Regions from separate parts of the Homo sapiens genome. Here regions 2 and 3 are each linked to region 1. Evidence: promoter capture Hi-C in 16 types of primary human blood cells and fetal thymus (Javierre and others, 2016). All regions are on one chromosome and are shown on one strand. The core of a region is centred on a gene start or on the middle of the fragment in contact, and the rest is flanking DNA. Distances in the headings are between cores, read along the strand shown.

Region 1 (4,695 bases), core at 1,153-3,652:
TGCACTCCAGCCTGGGCGACAGAGTGAGACTCTGTCTAAAAAAAAAAAAAAAAAAGTCATCAAACCAGATGACACAAATCAAATGACATTTCACTTTGTTTTGGTCCATTTTGTTTGTTAGAGACAAGAGTGCAGCGGGGCCATCTCAGCTCACTGCAACGTCCAGCTCCTCGGCCCAAGCGATCCTCCCACCTCAGCCTCTCCAGTAACTGGGATAACAGGTACGCACCACCAGGCCCGACTAATCTTTTTTGGAATTTTTTGTAGAGATGGGGTTTCGCCATGATGCCCTGGCTAGTCTTCAACTCCTGGACTCAAGTGATCTGCCCACCTCGGCCCCCTAAAGTGCTGGGATTACAGGCCTGAGCTGTGTAATTTCATGCCGCGTGACACAGCCCAGTAAAAAGGAAGAAACCCCGCGGGTCCAGCGTCTACTCACAGGGGTGGGCTGATGGCTGATAAATCCCAGCAGGAGCCAAATGAGGAGCCAAAAGCGCAGCCGCATGTCCTGATCCTTTCAGGGTGCCCTGAGGCGGCCAGGACAGAGGTGGAGGTGGCTTAGGGCAGGGGGGAGGGAAGGGGACGGGGACCGGGGCCGGATCTGAGTTGGGGCGGGGGAGGGGAGGGGGAGGGGAAGGGGAGGGGGAGGGGAAGGGGAGGGGGAGGGGAAGGGGAAGGGGAGGGGAAGGGGAGGGGAGGGGGAGGGGAAGGGGAGGGGAAGGGGGGAAGTAAGGGAAGGGAAAGGAGGAGAAGGGGGCTGTTGGGCACCTGGAGGAGGTGGAGGAGGAGAAGAAGAAAGGGGTCTGGGAAAGGATCCGGTTCAAATTAAGTTCTCAAGCGCTGGTGGAAGGTTTAGCTACAGGTCACGGAGAAGATCAGGGAAGCAACAGGACACGCGGGGCAAGGGAGCGTGAGGCTTAGGAGCAATTAGAGGGAGACAAAAAGGTTCTGCTATCCGCCAAACCTTCTTCGGTCTGGGCCCTCCCTTAGCAAACCTGGGGCTTTATACTCCCTCTCCACCAATCCCTGATGACCCCGGTGGTGCCTCACAATGGACAATGCCAAGTAGCGCCCGCATCATTCCAATGACCCCTCCCCCATCTCAGTCTCCCACACTCCTCGCAAGGACAGGTCCTCTCTGGAACCTTCACAAACCTGATTTCTGGTCCTCCCCAACCAGCTCCCTGTCCCTGCTTCTGGGCGCTCCTTCCTTCCTGAGCTCCCAGGGTTCCTCAAGGTCACTTTTGGCGACAAAACATAAAAAACAAATGATGGCAGGATGGCAGGAAGAACCTCATACCCAAGCAGAGTGCCAGGTTTTACAGCCTCCGCTCAGCCATTCATATCCTAAGCAACAAAACATCAGCAGGATGCGGAAGGTCCCGATAGTAAACCATCTCCATCACATCCATGTAGCCATCCGTCCATCAACCCGTATCTCAGGAACAAATGTAGATACATTCATTTTAAGCAAGCATGGTACATTTACAAAAATTAACCTGACTTATTTTGTTCCAGCAAATCTCAATATATTTGAGAGCAATCAAATCACACAGCACGTTTCTGATCATATAACTGTGCTAGAAGTCAATGATTAAAAGCTAATTCAAAATTATTATTTGCTTGGAAATTCAAAGTGCCCTTATAAGACATAAACATAAGAAAGAATCCAAAATGAAACAAGATTGCCTTTCAACTCAATGATAAGATCATAACATGGCAATAAAATGTCTCCCTCTGGCCTGGGAATTCCTCTTTGTGGCACAAGGTTGTGTGATCTCAAATCACCCCTAACCCACCTAGACAATTTAACATCCGAAACCGAGTGATGATGTCCTTATCTATAATCATCTTACTGCCTGTGTGTGTGGACTTTAAATTCTGAACCCAAATGAGGGGGAGAAAACCAAGTTGACCTTCATGATTGACCTCTCAGGGATGTCCAAGGAATCTGTGCATGGTGGCACCTGCCTGTAGTCCCAGATACTTGGTAGGCTGAGGCAGGAGAATCACTTGAACCTGGAAGATGGAGTTTGCAGTGAGCTGAGATAGTGCCACTGCACTCCAGTCTGAGCAACAGAGCGAGACTCCGTCTCCAAAAAAAAAAAGTTGGAGGATTCACATTTCCTATTTTCAAAAGCTCACTACAAAGCTATAGTAATTAAGACAGTGTTGTATTGGTGTAAGAATAAACCTGGGTCTGGTGCAGTGGCCCACGCCTGTAATCCCAGTATCTCTGGAGGTCAAGGTGGGCAGATCATTTGAGCTGAGGAGTTTGAGACCAGACTGGGCAACATAGTGAGACACCGTCTCTACCAAAAAAATGTACAAAAGGTAGCTGGGTGTGGTGGCTAATTGGGAGGCTGAGGCAGAGGAGCCCAGGAGTTCAAGGTTACGGTGAGCTATGATCACGCCACTTCACTCCATCCTGGGTGACAAAAACCCTGTCTCTAAACAAAATAAAAAATAAAAGTAAAAATAAAGTTAGCAGTTAGGGTCTACTATGTTAACTTTTTTCTGCACAGACTGCTGTATCACACCACCTGCAAAAAAGTTAATTCAAAATGAAAACAAGATCTAAATGTAAGAGCTAAAACTATAAAACTCTTAGAAGAAAATGTAGGAGGCTGGGCGCGCTGGTTCACGCCTGTAATCCCAGCACTTTGGGAGGCCGAGGTGGGCGGATCACTTGAGGTCAGGAGTTTGAGGCCAGCCTGGCCAACACGGTGAAACCCCGCCTCTATTAAAAATATAAAAAATTAGCTGGGTGTGGTGGCACACCCTTGTAATCCCCGCTACTCAGGAGGCTGAGGCAGGAGAATCGCTTGAACCCGGGAGTCTGGGCAAAAAGAATGAAACTCTGTTTCAAAAAAAAAAAAAAAAAAAAAGGAGATGGGGTTTCACCGTGTTAGGCAGGATGGTCTCGATCTCCTGACCTCGTGATCTGCCCGCCTCAGCCTCCCAAAGTGCTGGGATTACAGGCGTGAGCCACTGCACCCCGCCCCTCTTTGTTTGTTTTTTAAGAGATAGGGTCTTGCTCTGTGCCCACATTGGGGTGCAGTGGTATGATCATAGCTCACTGCAGCCTCGAATTCCTAGGCTCAAGTGATCCTCCCACTTCAGCCTCCAGAGTAGCTGGGAGTACAGGCACGCAGCACTACACCTGGCTTATTTTATTTTTATTTTTTGAGACAGGGTTTCATTCCTGTCACCCAGGCTGGAGTGCAATGGTTCAATCTCAGCTCACTACAACCTCCACCTCTCGGGCTCAAGCAATTCTCCCGCCTCAGCCTCCCAAGTAGCTGGGACTACAGGCATACCTTGCCAGGATAATTTTTTCTTTTTTCTTTTTTTGCCATGATGCCCAGACTGGTCTTGAACTCCTGGCCCAAGTTGTCCTCCTGCCTCCCAGAATGCTGGGATTATAGGCATGAGCCACCACGCCCGGCCTCCTTTTATCATTATTTTAATTTTTTATAGAGATAGAACCTTGCAATGTTGCTCATGCTGGTCTTGAACTCCTGGTCTCAAGCAAACCTCCCGCCTTGGCCTCCCAAAGTGCTGGGATTACAGGCATGAGCCACTGCACCTGGCTCCCACTTAGATATGTTACCAGAAGCACAAGCAACCAAACAAAAAATAGATAAATTGGACTTCATCAAAATAAGTGTCTTTCCGTACCAAAAGACAATATCAAAAAAGTAAAAAGACAACACAGAATGGGAGAAAATATTTGCAAATCATGTATCTTATAAGGGACTTCTGTCTAGAATATATGAAGAAATCTTACAACTCAAAAAGACTTCAGATCTCTGGCTCTTTAATAAAAAAAGACAATCCCATTTAAAAATGGGCAAAGGATCTGAGAAGACATTTCTCAAAGAACTATATGTACGGTCAATAAGGACATGAAAAGATGCTCAGCATCATTAGTCACCAGGGACATGCAAATCAAAACCACAGTGAGATACCACTTCACACTCACTAGAAAGGCTATAATAAAAACCAAACCAGACAACCAAAGGAAAAAAAAAAAACAAAAACGGAAAAGAGGCTGGGCACGGTGGCTCATGCCTGTAATCCCAGCACTCTGGGAGGCCAAGGCCGGTGGATCACCTGAGTTTAGAAGTTGGAGACCAGCCTGGCCAACATGGCGAAACCTCGTCTCCATAACAAATACAAAAATTAGCCAGGTGTGGTGGTGGGTGCCTGTAATCCCAGCTACTTGGGAGGCTGAGGCAGAAGAATAGCTTGAACCCAGAAGCGGAGGCTGCAGTGAGCAGAGACTGCGTCACTGCACTCCAGCCTGGTGACAGAGCAGGACTCCATCTGAAAAAACAAAACAAAACAAAAACAAAAAACAACAACAAAAAAGAATTAGCCAGGTGTAGTGGCGCATGCCTGTAATCCCAGCTACTTGGGAGGCTGAGGTGGGAGAATCACTTGAACTCAGGAGACTGAGATTGCAGTGAGCCGAGATAGCACCACTGCACTCCATCCTGCGCAACAGAGCGAGACTGTCTCAAAAATAAAAAAAAAAGAGGGAGGCTGAGGCAGGAGAATCACTTGAACCGGGGAGACGGAGGTTGCGGTGGAAAAAGAATGGAAAAGAGCAAGTATTGGTGGGGACGTGGAGTCCTCGTACACTGCCAGTGGAATGTAAAATTGCAGCCACTTTGGGAAACAGTCGGGTAG
Region 2 (4,695 bases), core at 764-3,263, 110 kb after region 1:
CCCCTTCTTCTCCACATCAATTGATCATACCTGTATGTGTCTATTTCTGGACTCTGAATTCTGTTCTGTTGATCTATATGCCAGTACCACACCATCGTGATTACCGTAGCTTCGTAATAAATTTTGAAATTGGGAAGTATGAGTTCTCCAACTTTTTTTTTCTTTTTCCAAGATTGGGGATAATCTGGGTCCCGTGAATTTCCATATGAATTTTAGGATGAACTTGTCAATTTCTGCAAAGAAGTCAATTAGAATTTTGATGGGGATTGCGTTGACTGTATAGATTGATTTGTCTCTTTGATAAAGGACTATCATTAAAGATATCACTTATGATTTAACTTTAATGCCTTCTTTTTTTTTTTTTTTTAACAGTCTCACTCTGTCACCCAGGCTGGAGTGCAGTGACATGATCTCAGCTCACTGCAACCTCAGCCTCCCGAGTAGCTAGGACTATACGCACATGCTACAATGCCCGGCTAATTTTTGTATTTTTAGTAGAGGTGGGGTTTCATCATGTTGGCCAGGCTGGTCTTGAACTCCTGATCTCAAGTGATCTGCCCACTTTGGCCTTCCAAAGTGCTGGGATTACAGGCTTAAGCCACTGCACCAGGCCCTTTAAGGCCTTTTATAATGCTTTTGCATTAGTCAAAGGAGAAAATCATCTTGAACTCCTGAATTTGGATTTAGAAAATGAGGGCCATAGCCGGGCGCCCTTGCCTGTAATTCCAGCACTTTGGGAAACCGAGGCAGGTGGATCACGAGGTCAGGAGTTCAAGACCAGCCTGGCCAAGATGGCGAAACCCTGTCTCTACTAAAAATACAAAAAATTAGGCCGGGCGCATTGGCTTACGCCTGTAATCCCAGCACTTTGGGAGGCCGAGGCAGGCGGATCACGAGGTCAGGAGATCGAGACCATCCTGGCTAAGACGGTGAAACTCCGTCTCTTCTAAAACTACAAAAAATTAACCAGGCGTGGTGGCGGGCGCCTGTAGTCCCAGCTACTCGGGAGGCTGAGGCAGGAGAAAGGCGTGAACCCGGGAGGCGGAGCTTGCAGTGAGCCGAGATCGTGCCACTACACTCCAGCCTGGGCGACAGAGTGAGACTCCATCTCAAAAAAAAAAAAAAAAAAAGAAAATGAGGGCCGTATTTTGGGGATGGGGACTCTGGCCTGGCTGGCAGGGTACCACAGCAGCACAAAGGGCCACCGTCATGTCCTGCTGCTCTTTTCCTTACAGGAAGAGCGTTCGCGGAGCGAACACAACTTAGTGAACATCCAGAAGACCCATGAGCGGATGCAGACAGAGAACAAGAGTGAGTAGCTGGGCTCAGGAGAGAAAGGGGATGAGATGGGGCTAGGGTGAGTATGGCCAAGACTGTGACCGAGGTGGTCATTGTATTCAAAATAGATTTGCATGTATCTGCATATTCCAAAATGCAGCAGGAGGGACAGCTTTCCGTTAATCTGGGTGACCTGAAGAACTAAAATCCCTCTACTCTGAGGATTCGAAAGGCAGTGAAATGAGGCTGTATCTAGGGAAGCTTGCCCTTAGAGCACACAAGCGCCCCAGTTAGCTGGTGTTTTCTAGAAAGGAGCTTCCTTCCCAGGCGGCCCCTGCATCTGCCCTGAGGCCCTCAGGTGGTGAGATCCTGGGGCTGGGGCTTTCTTACTCTGGGTAACTCTGAGAATTGTGTTTTCCTGGGTCCTGACAAATATTTTCTGTGAGTGTCATGATGGAGAAAAGGTAAGACAGTACTCTCGCAGATGTAGGGATGGCATTTGTACCATATGGAAATGCGGACTCATGGAGCCTGGGGGCATCCGCCTCAGGAGCACTCCTGAGCCAGCAGAGCTCTGACTGCAGCTACGGCCTCTCTGTGCCTCCACGAGTGTGATTCCGGTGCATGGAAGCAGTGCCATGCTACTGTGCCTGCCCTGGCCCTGCCTCCTTATCCCTGTGTTTCCTCTGCAGTTTCTCCCTATTACCGGACAAAGCTGCGTGGCCTCTACACAACCGCCAAGGCCGATGCAGAGGCTGAGTGCAAGTGAGTACCGTGCACCCACTTCATCGCCGCTCCCTCCTTTCCTGGGGGCTGGGCTGCAGGTCCATTTGGACCAAGTCCCCAGCCTGCCTTCCTCCCATGGATAAGCTGATTGCTACTCCCAGCCTCTCGCTTGGGTCCCGCATTCCCTGGCCCACTGCCAGGCCCACTCTTCCAGTTACCTCTGCTGCTAATGCCTTTACAGAAGGTGGCAAGGCGTGAGTCAACACTGCCGTTTACTGGCTCTATGACCTTGGCAGAGTCATTAAAATAGGGATATCAGGGGCTGGGTAGCTCAGATCTGTAATCACAACATTACAGAGGTGATTGGGAGGCCGAGGTTAGAGGATCACTTGAACGCAGGTGTTTGAGACCAGCCTGGGCAACAAAGTGAGACTTTGTCTCTACAAAAAGTTTTTAATTAGCTGAGCGTGGTGGCATGTGTCTGTAAGCTTGGCTGGGAAGTCATACTCAGATGACCTGAAGGTTTTATGGTTCTGAGATGGAGAAGTTTCACTTCCAGAAAACTCCTGCTTTTAAAATAATCTTAAGGCCGGGCAGGCACAGTGGCTCATGCCTGCAATCGCAAGGTGGGTGGATCACCTGAGGTTGGGGGTTTGAGACCAGCCTGGCTAGCATAGCGAAACCCTATATCTACTAAAAATACAAAAATTAGCCAGGTGTGGTGGCGCACGCTACTTGGGAGGCTGAGGCAGGAGGCGGAGGTTGCAGTGAGCTAAGATCGTGCCACTGCACTCCAGCCTGGGCAACAGAGCAAGGCTCTGCCTCAAAAAAAAAAAAAAAACTAAAATAAAAAAATGATCTGGAAACACTGTTTCCTTGAATCTCTGCAGGAGATTCAGGAACTTGAACATTACATTCCTCTACTTTGAGAACACACTGGTTCTGAAGTCTGACTGTGCCCAGAGGCTCTGTTTATTTGGGGTGGAGCTCCAACATTGGTATTAACTATCTGACATTTCCTCACTAGTAGGATTCATGCTTTACACTTTTGGCACAGAAGAGGTGTCTCTGGTGGGTCATATTAGACGGCACAGGATGCTGTCTGTGCCATTGGTTAAAGTGGTATTTTCCACGTTTCTCTTGTATCAGATTACTGCTATTTTCCATTGTGTGATTGATCGATTAAGACAGGGTCTCAGTCTGTCATCCAGGCTGGAGTGGAGTGGCGTAATCATGGCTCACTTCAGCCTCAAACTCCTGGCCTCAAGTGATCCTCCTGCCTCAGCCTCCTGAGTAGCTGGGACAATAGGCACCTGCCACCACTCCACCTAATTTTTGTATTTTTTGTAGAGAGGGGTTTTGCCATGTTGCCCAGGCTGGTCTTGAACTCCTCAGCTCAAGCGATCCACCCACCTTGGCCTCCCAAAGTGCTGGGATTACAGGTGTGAGCCTCTGCACCTGGCCTCCATTGCATAATTAATAAGTGTCTTGGGAGATACTTTTGAGACTGTAACTATCCTGTTCATATCAAACACACTAGTTTTAGCATCCATTTATGATTTGTGCGTGAAACAATTGAGATTTTTTAAACTTCCCCCAGGAGATTCTGATGCCCACCAAGGTTTGAAAGCCACTTCAGTAACATGTCACAGAAGACAGTTTAGGACAGGCTGTATAAAACTGTATCCTCCACACAGGCCTGGCAACAGTGATGAGACTCTCAGAGTTCCCTTTGGCCCCGTGGCTCTTTCTCCTTCTCTGCTTTCTGGGGTCCCGGTGCTCACAGCCTGAGGTGGCACTGGCTGGGCCATCCCTGCATTGTACGCAGCAGGCAAGCTGTTCCTTGTCCCTGCGTTGGTTTGGCTGCCCTTGGCCTACCTCCATCTTCTGGCCCTGGCCTGGTGAGGTCCATGAGTCACATGCCCTGGGGCACCCCCGGACACCTCCCGAGATGCTGCATCACACCCAGTTCCTGTGCATCTCCTTCCTGCCGCACAAAGGTCTTTAGAACTCCGGGTCATTTCAGAAAGGCTTGCCAGAGGAATGGACTGGGGTTTGCCATGGTATCAGAGGAAAATAAAATGACCCAAAGTGGAGTTTGTGCTGCTGACTACTGTGGAAATACGTATTTTTTTTGAAATGGAGTTTCGCTCTGTCACCCAGGCTGGAGTGCAGTGACACAATCTCGGCTCACTGCAAGCTCTGCCCCCAAGGTTCAAGCGATTCTCTTGCCTCAGCCTCCCAAGTAGCTGGGATTATAGACGCCCGCCACCACGCCGGGCTAATTTTTGTATTTTTAGTAGAGAAGGAGTTTCTCTATGTTGGCCAGGCTGGTGTCGATCTCCTGACCTCAAGTGATCCTCCTGCCTCAGCCTCCTAAAGTGCTGAGATTACAGGCGTGAGCCACCACACCCATCCCTGCTGTGGAAATACTCTTTGGGAAGATTCCCTGAGCTTTAGGATGAAGGAGCCTCACTCCAGCCAAGTTCTGTGTTTGCTTCTGCTGGGTTCTTTGGGTTCCTGCCACCCTGGAATCCCCATAAACTAACTTCACAGAGGCTTCCTGGGGCTTCAAGGCCATGCAGGGGTCTGTCTTTGGGTTCAGCCTTTCAGAAAGGATGAGGTCCTTCCACCCAGTTCTGCTCTGGGCCAGCACCTCTCCCCAGAGTCTCCCCTCCTTTTGTGTGACCC
Region 3 (4,695 bases), core at 1,594-4,093, 72 kb after region 1:
ACAGGGCTTCTCAGGTCTAAAGCTTGGTTCTGCCCCCTAGTTAGCTGTGTGCTCTTAGACAAGCTTAGTCTGCATGTTTGTTTACTCGTCTATACAGTGGGATTAATGGCACCTAGGCTGGATAAGGTGAGGCACACCTGCAATCCCACTGTTTTGAAAGGCTGAGGTGGAAGGATCACTTGAGGTCAGGAGTTTGAGGCTGCGGTGAGCTATGATCGTGCCACTGCACTCGAAAAAGAAAAAGAAAAGAAGGTTGGGGCCGGGCACGGTAGCTCACACCTGTAATCCCAGCACTTTGGGAGGCCGAGGTGGGTGGATCACGAGATCAGGAGTTCGAGACCAGCCTAGCTAAAATGGTGAAACCCCGTCTCTACTAAAAATACAAAAATTACCTAGGCGTGGTGGTGTGTGCCTGTAATCCCAGCTACTCAGCAGGCTGAGGCAGTAGAATCGCTTGAACCCAGGAGGCAGAGGTTGCGGTGAGCTAAGATCGCGCCACTGCACTCCAGCCTGGACGACAGAGTGAGACCCGGTCTCAAAAAAAAAAAAAAATGCTTAGCGCAGTGCCTAGAAGATAATCAGTGTGCAATAAATGCTTGCTATTTTAATTATCATTATTCTCGGGGCAGGAATCTTGCCTGCCATATTGTATCCTCAATGCCTGGCACTCAGTCTGAGCTCAGTAAATGTCTAGTTGAATACATGAGGCTCTGCTAAGATCAGTGTTGCTTGCTCAGCTTCCACCTGCTCTGCAATGCAGGAACTGAGAGGCGAATTGTAGCCTCACAGGGGACCACAGAAACACTGTGATTGTCCCAGATGGAGCCAGGGAAGGAGGTCTCCCTGGCCTTGATCTTACAGGTGCTGGAAGAAAGAAGCCTATGAGAGAAGGAGGAAGGGCATGGTGGCTCACGCCTGTAATCCCAGCACTTTGGGAGGCCGACGAGGTTGGGTGGGTCACCTGAGGTCAGGAGTTGGAGACCAGCCTGGCCAACATGGTGAAACCCCGTCTCTACTAAAAATACAAAAATTAGCCGGGTGTGGTGGCGGGCACCTGTAGTCCCAGCTGCTGGGGAGGCTGAGGCTGGAGAATGGCATGAACCCGGAAGGCGGAGCTTGCAGTGAGCCCAGATCGCGCCACTGCACTCCAGCCTGGGCGACAGAGCGAGACTCCATCTCAAAAAACAAAACAAAACAAAAAAAAGGGCCAGGCGCGGTAGTTCACGCCTGTAATCCCAGCACTTTGGGAGGCCGAGGCGGGTGGATCACCAGGTCAGGAGTTCAAGACCAGCTTGGCCAACATGGTGAAACTCCGTCTTTACTAAAAATACAAAAATTAGCTGGGCGTGGAGGCATGCACCTGTAATTCAAGATACTCGGGAGGCTGAGGCGGAAGAATCTCTTGAACCCAGGAGGCAGAGGTTGCAGTGAGCCGAGATCACGCCATTGTACTCCAGCCTGCTGGAACCCCTCTAGCATGGATCTGCAGGGCTCTAGACGTGGCTCCATCTAGACGTAGAGGTGTGCTTTTTGTTACAGGAACAGCAGATTTGTATGCCTGCTGCCCTGTCACAGCCCTATTACACTGGACAGCAGGGATGCAGTAGAGAGAGTTTCATGATCACAGGGCACTGTGCAAGGGGATAGGAGGAGACCTGCGAATGCATCTCCCCAGGGAATTCTGGGATGGGGCTTTTAAGGGGATTATGGAGGGTGAGAGGCTAGAAAATTGGGGTCATTGGTCAGAGCAAGGGAAATGAAATCATCATGATGTGAAAAAGACATTTTTGGGGAGTTAGCTCCTGGTGGGGTCCTTCAGGCTGGCGGAGTCAGTCGCTTCACCGGCACGCAGGACCTGAAGGAATTTCTCAAAAGTAACATTTAATGTTTCATAACGTTCAAGTTGCTATCTCTAGTGCAGTTAAGGGGAACTATGATCTTGTAACCAGGTCTACGTGATTCTAGAACAGCAGGCACCAGACAACTAAGAGGAAGCAGATCAGGGGGCAGCTGACCTCATGATCAGCGCTGGGTGTGCTGCAAGCCTGGCTTGTTTCCATTTCTCCTCTCTGTTCTCTGATTAATTGCATGAGGTTTACAGGGATGGTTTCATTTTCCCATCCTCAAGCCTCCAGGTGCATGTAAAATCTGCCACGAGGAAGTTTATTTTCTTCCTGCTTAGAGTTACACCTTCGTGACGTTGCTAGGCACACCTATGACAACCCAGCGCCATCAGCTTGGAGTAAACGCAGAGGGCTGGGAGCTCCCAGGAGGGCACCTAACCTCTCTGGAGATAGGGAGATGAAGGCACACTTCCTGGAGGAGGTGAAGCTTGTTTTCTAATTCTTTTATTTTTAATTAATTAATTAATTTAATTTTAATTTTCTTTTCTTTTTTCTTTTTTTCTCTTTTTTTTGAGACAGAGTCTTGCTCTGTCACCCAGGCTGGAGTGCAGTGGCACGATCTCGGCTCACTGCAACCTCCGTGTCCCGGGTTCAAGCGATTCTCCTGTCTCAGTCTCCTGAGTAGCTGGAATCACAGGCATGCACCACTACACCCAGCTAATTTTTGTATTTTTAGTAGAGACAGGGTTTCATCATGTTGGCCAGACTGATTTCAAACTCCTGACCTCAAGTCATCCACCCGCCTCGGCTTCCAAAGTGCTAGGATTACAGGCATGAGCCATCGCACCCGGCCTATTTATTTATTTTTGAGACAGGTTCTCACTCTGTCGTCCAGGCTGAATACAGTGGAGCAACCTTGCTCACTGTAGCCTCGACCTCTAGGGCTCAGGGGATCCTCCCACCTCAGCCTCCCAAGTAGTTGGGACTTTAGGCACGCACCATCATGCCCAGCTAATTTTATTTTTTGTAGAGATGAGGTCTCCCTATGTTGCCGAGACTGGTCTTGAACTCCTTGGCTAAAGTGGTCCTCTTACCTCGGCCTCCCAAATAGCTGGAATTACAGGCGTGAGTCACCACGCCAGGCCTGGAGGCAAAGTTTGAACAAGAATGGCTGTTTGTGGGCCAGATGCAAAGGCTGACACCTGTAATCCCAGCACTTTGGGAGGCCGAGGCAGGAGGACTGCTTGAGCCCAGGAACTCAAGACCAGCCTGGGCAACATAGCGAGATCTCATCTTTACAAAAAAAATCCAAAAGTTAGCCAGGCGTGGTGGTGCATGCCTGTAGCTCCAAGTACTCAGGAGGCTGAGGCAGGTGGATGACTTGAGCCCAGGAGGTTGAGGCTACAGTGAGCCATGATCGCACCACTGCACTCCAGCCTAGGCAACACAGCAAGACTTCCTCTCTGTTGGATAGCCTGAGGGATGTACGAAGTCACTAGCTCAAAGGAACAGAAGCTTCCCAGGCTGAAGGCAGAATACGTAATTAAGGTGGATTGGACATCGCTGTGTTCCAAGAGGACACAAGAAATCTAAATGAGGTTAAACAAAATATATCCATATGATCTCACAACCCCATCCCAGATAAAAATGTCAAATCTGGCAGCTGCATTTGCAAGTTTTCTTGGCTGTGTGATATCATCGTTTTAAATATCAGTGGATGCTGTCTTTTTTTTTTTTTCTTTGAGATGGAGTTTTGCTCTTGTTGCCCAGGCTGGAGTGCAGTGGCGCAATCTCGGCTAGCTGCAACCTCCGCTTCCCGGGTTCAAGCGATTCTCCTGCCTCAGTCTCCCTAGTAGCTGGGATTACAGGCAGATGCCATGATGCCCAGCTAATTTTTGTATTTTTAGTAGAGACGGGGTTTCACCATGTTGGTCAGGCTGGTTTCGAACTCCTAACCTCAGGTGATCCGCCTGCCTCAGCCTTCCAAAGTGTTGGGATTACAGGCATGAGCCACTGCGCCCAGCCAGATGCTGTCTTTAATGGGTGGTTTGGCAACATTGATAAGATTTTGAAATGCTTATATCCCCCTGATATTGCAGTCCCACTTTCAGGAGTCTCTCCTACAGAAATCTTCCCAGAGGTGAGTAAAGAGGCAGGTACAAGGAAGTTCATTTGTTTGTAGTAGTGAAAAACAGGAAACCCAGCCTGGGCAACATAGCGAGACCCCATATCTTAAAAAAAAAAAAAAAAAAAGACTGGCATGGTGGTGTGTACTTGTAGTCCCAGCTACTCAGGAGGATGAGGCAGGAGGATGGCTTGAGCCATGATGGTGCCTCTGCACTCCAGCCTGGGCGACAGAGCAACACCCTGTCTCTAAAAAAAGCAAAAACCAAAAATCGGAAACAACCTAAATGTCCATCAGTAGGTGACTGATCAGTTTCCTTCTGTGAAACACTGTAGCCATTCAATACTCTTTAGAGAGAGAATGTATCTCTATCTCTGATGAGAAAGATGTCCATAATACATTCCTAATGAAAAACACAGGTTGCAGAACATCATGTACACTACAAATTATATTTTTGCATTAAATGTATAGATAACTATGAGTAATACACAGTTTTCACCATAATAGAGGTGTGACATTTTCTCCTGACAACTAAAATAGACAGCCACATAAAACACAGTAGTAGAAAAACCTAGAATAAGGCTGGACGCGGTGGCTTATGCCTGTAATGCCAGCACTTTGGGAGGCCAAGGCATGTGGATCACCTGAGGTCAGGGGTTTGAGATCAGCTTGACCAACATGGTGAAACCCCGTCTCTACTAAAAATACAAAATTAGCCGGGCTTGG

What was found. The method cuts DNA at HindIII sites, captures the fragments that hold promoters and counts their contacts. A CHiCAGO score of 5 or more calls a contact.
Region 2: a contact is called between a fragment that was not itself captured here and the fragment with the promoter of NPIPB7 in region 1, in 2 of 17 cell types (M2 macrophages and monocytes). The highest score is 6.2, in M2 macrophages.
Region 3: a fragment that was not itself captured here is called in contact with the fragment with the promoter of NPIPB7 in region 1 in 12 of 17 cell types (monocytes, M0 macrophages, M2 macrophages and 9 more); the score reaches 13.2 in monocytes.

The regions. Positions count from the first base shown.
Region 1 is chr16:28,469,934-28,474,628 of GRCh38, forward strand. NPIPB7 (nuclear pore complex interacting protein family member B7) reads right to left here and starts at 2,403. Exons shown (of 7, transcript NM_001396030.1): 1 at 440-2,403. The coding sequence starts at 505. It also overlaps a transcript of CLN3 not described here. RefSeq lists a silencer at 3,893-3,962. The HindIII fragment of the contact is 21,132 bases long and covers 1-4,695 here.
Region 2 is chr16:28,583,678-28,588,372 of GRCh38, forward strand. It overlaps SGF29 (SAGA complex associated factor 29), which reads left to right. Exons shown (of 10, transcript NM_138414.3): 3 at 1,236-1,311; 4 at 1,971-2,043. Among named protein-coding and RNA genes, the nearest start is that of SULT1A2, 11 kb to the right of the region's middle. The HindIII fragment of the contact is 953 bases long and covers 1,538-2,490 here.
Region 3 is chr16:28,541,168-28,545,862 of GRCh38, forward strand. No RefSeq gene overlaps it. Among named protein-coding and RNA genes, the nearest start is that of NUPR1, 4.5 kb to the left of the region's middle. The HindIII fragment of the contact is 1,028 bases long and covers 2,330-3,357 here.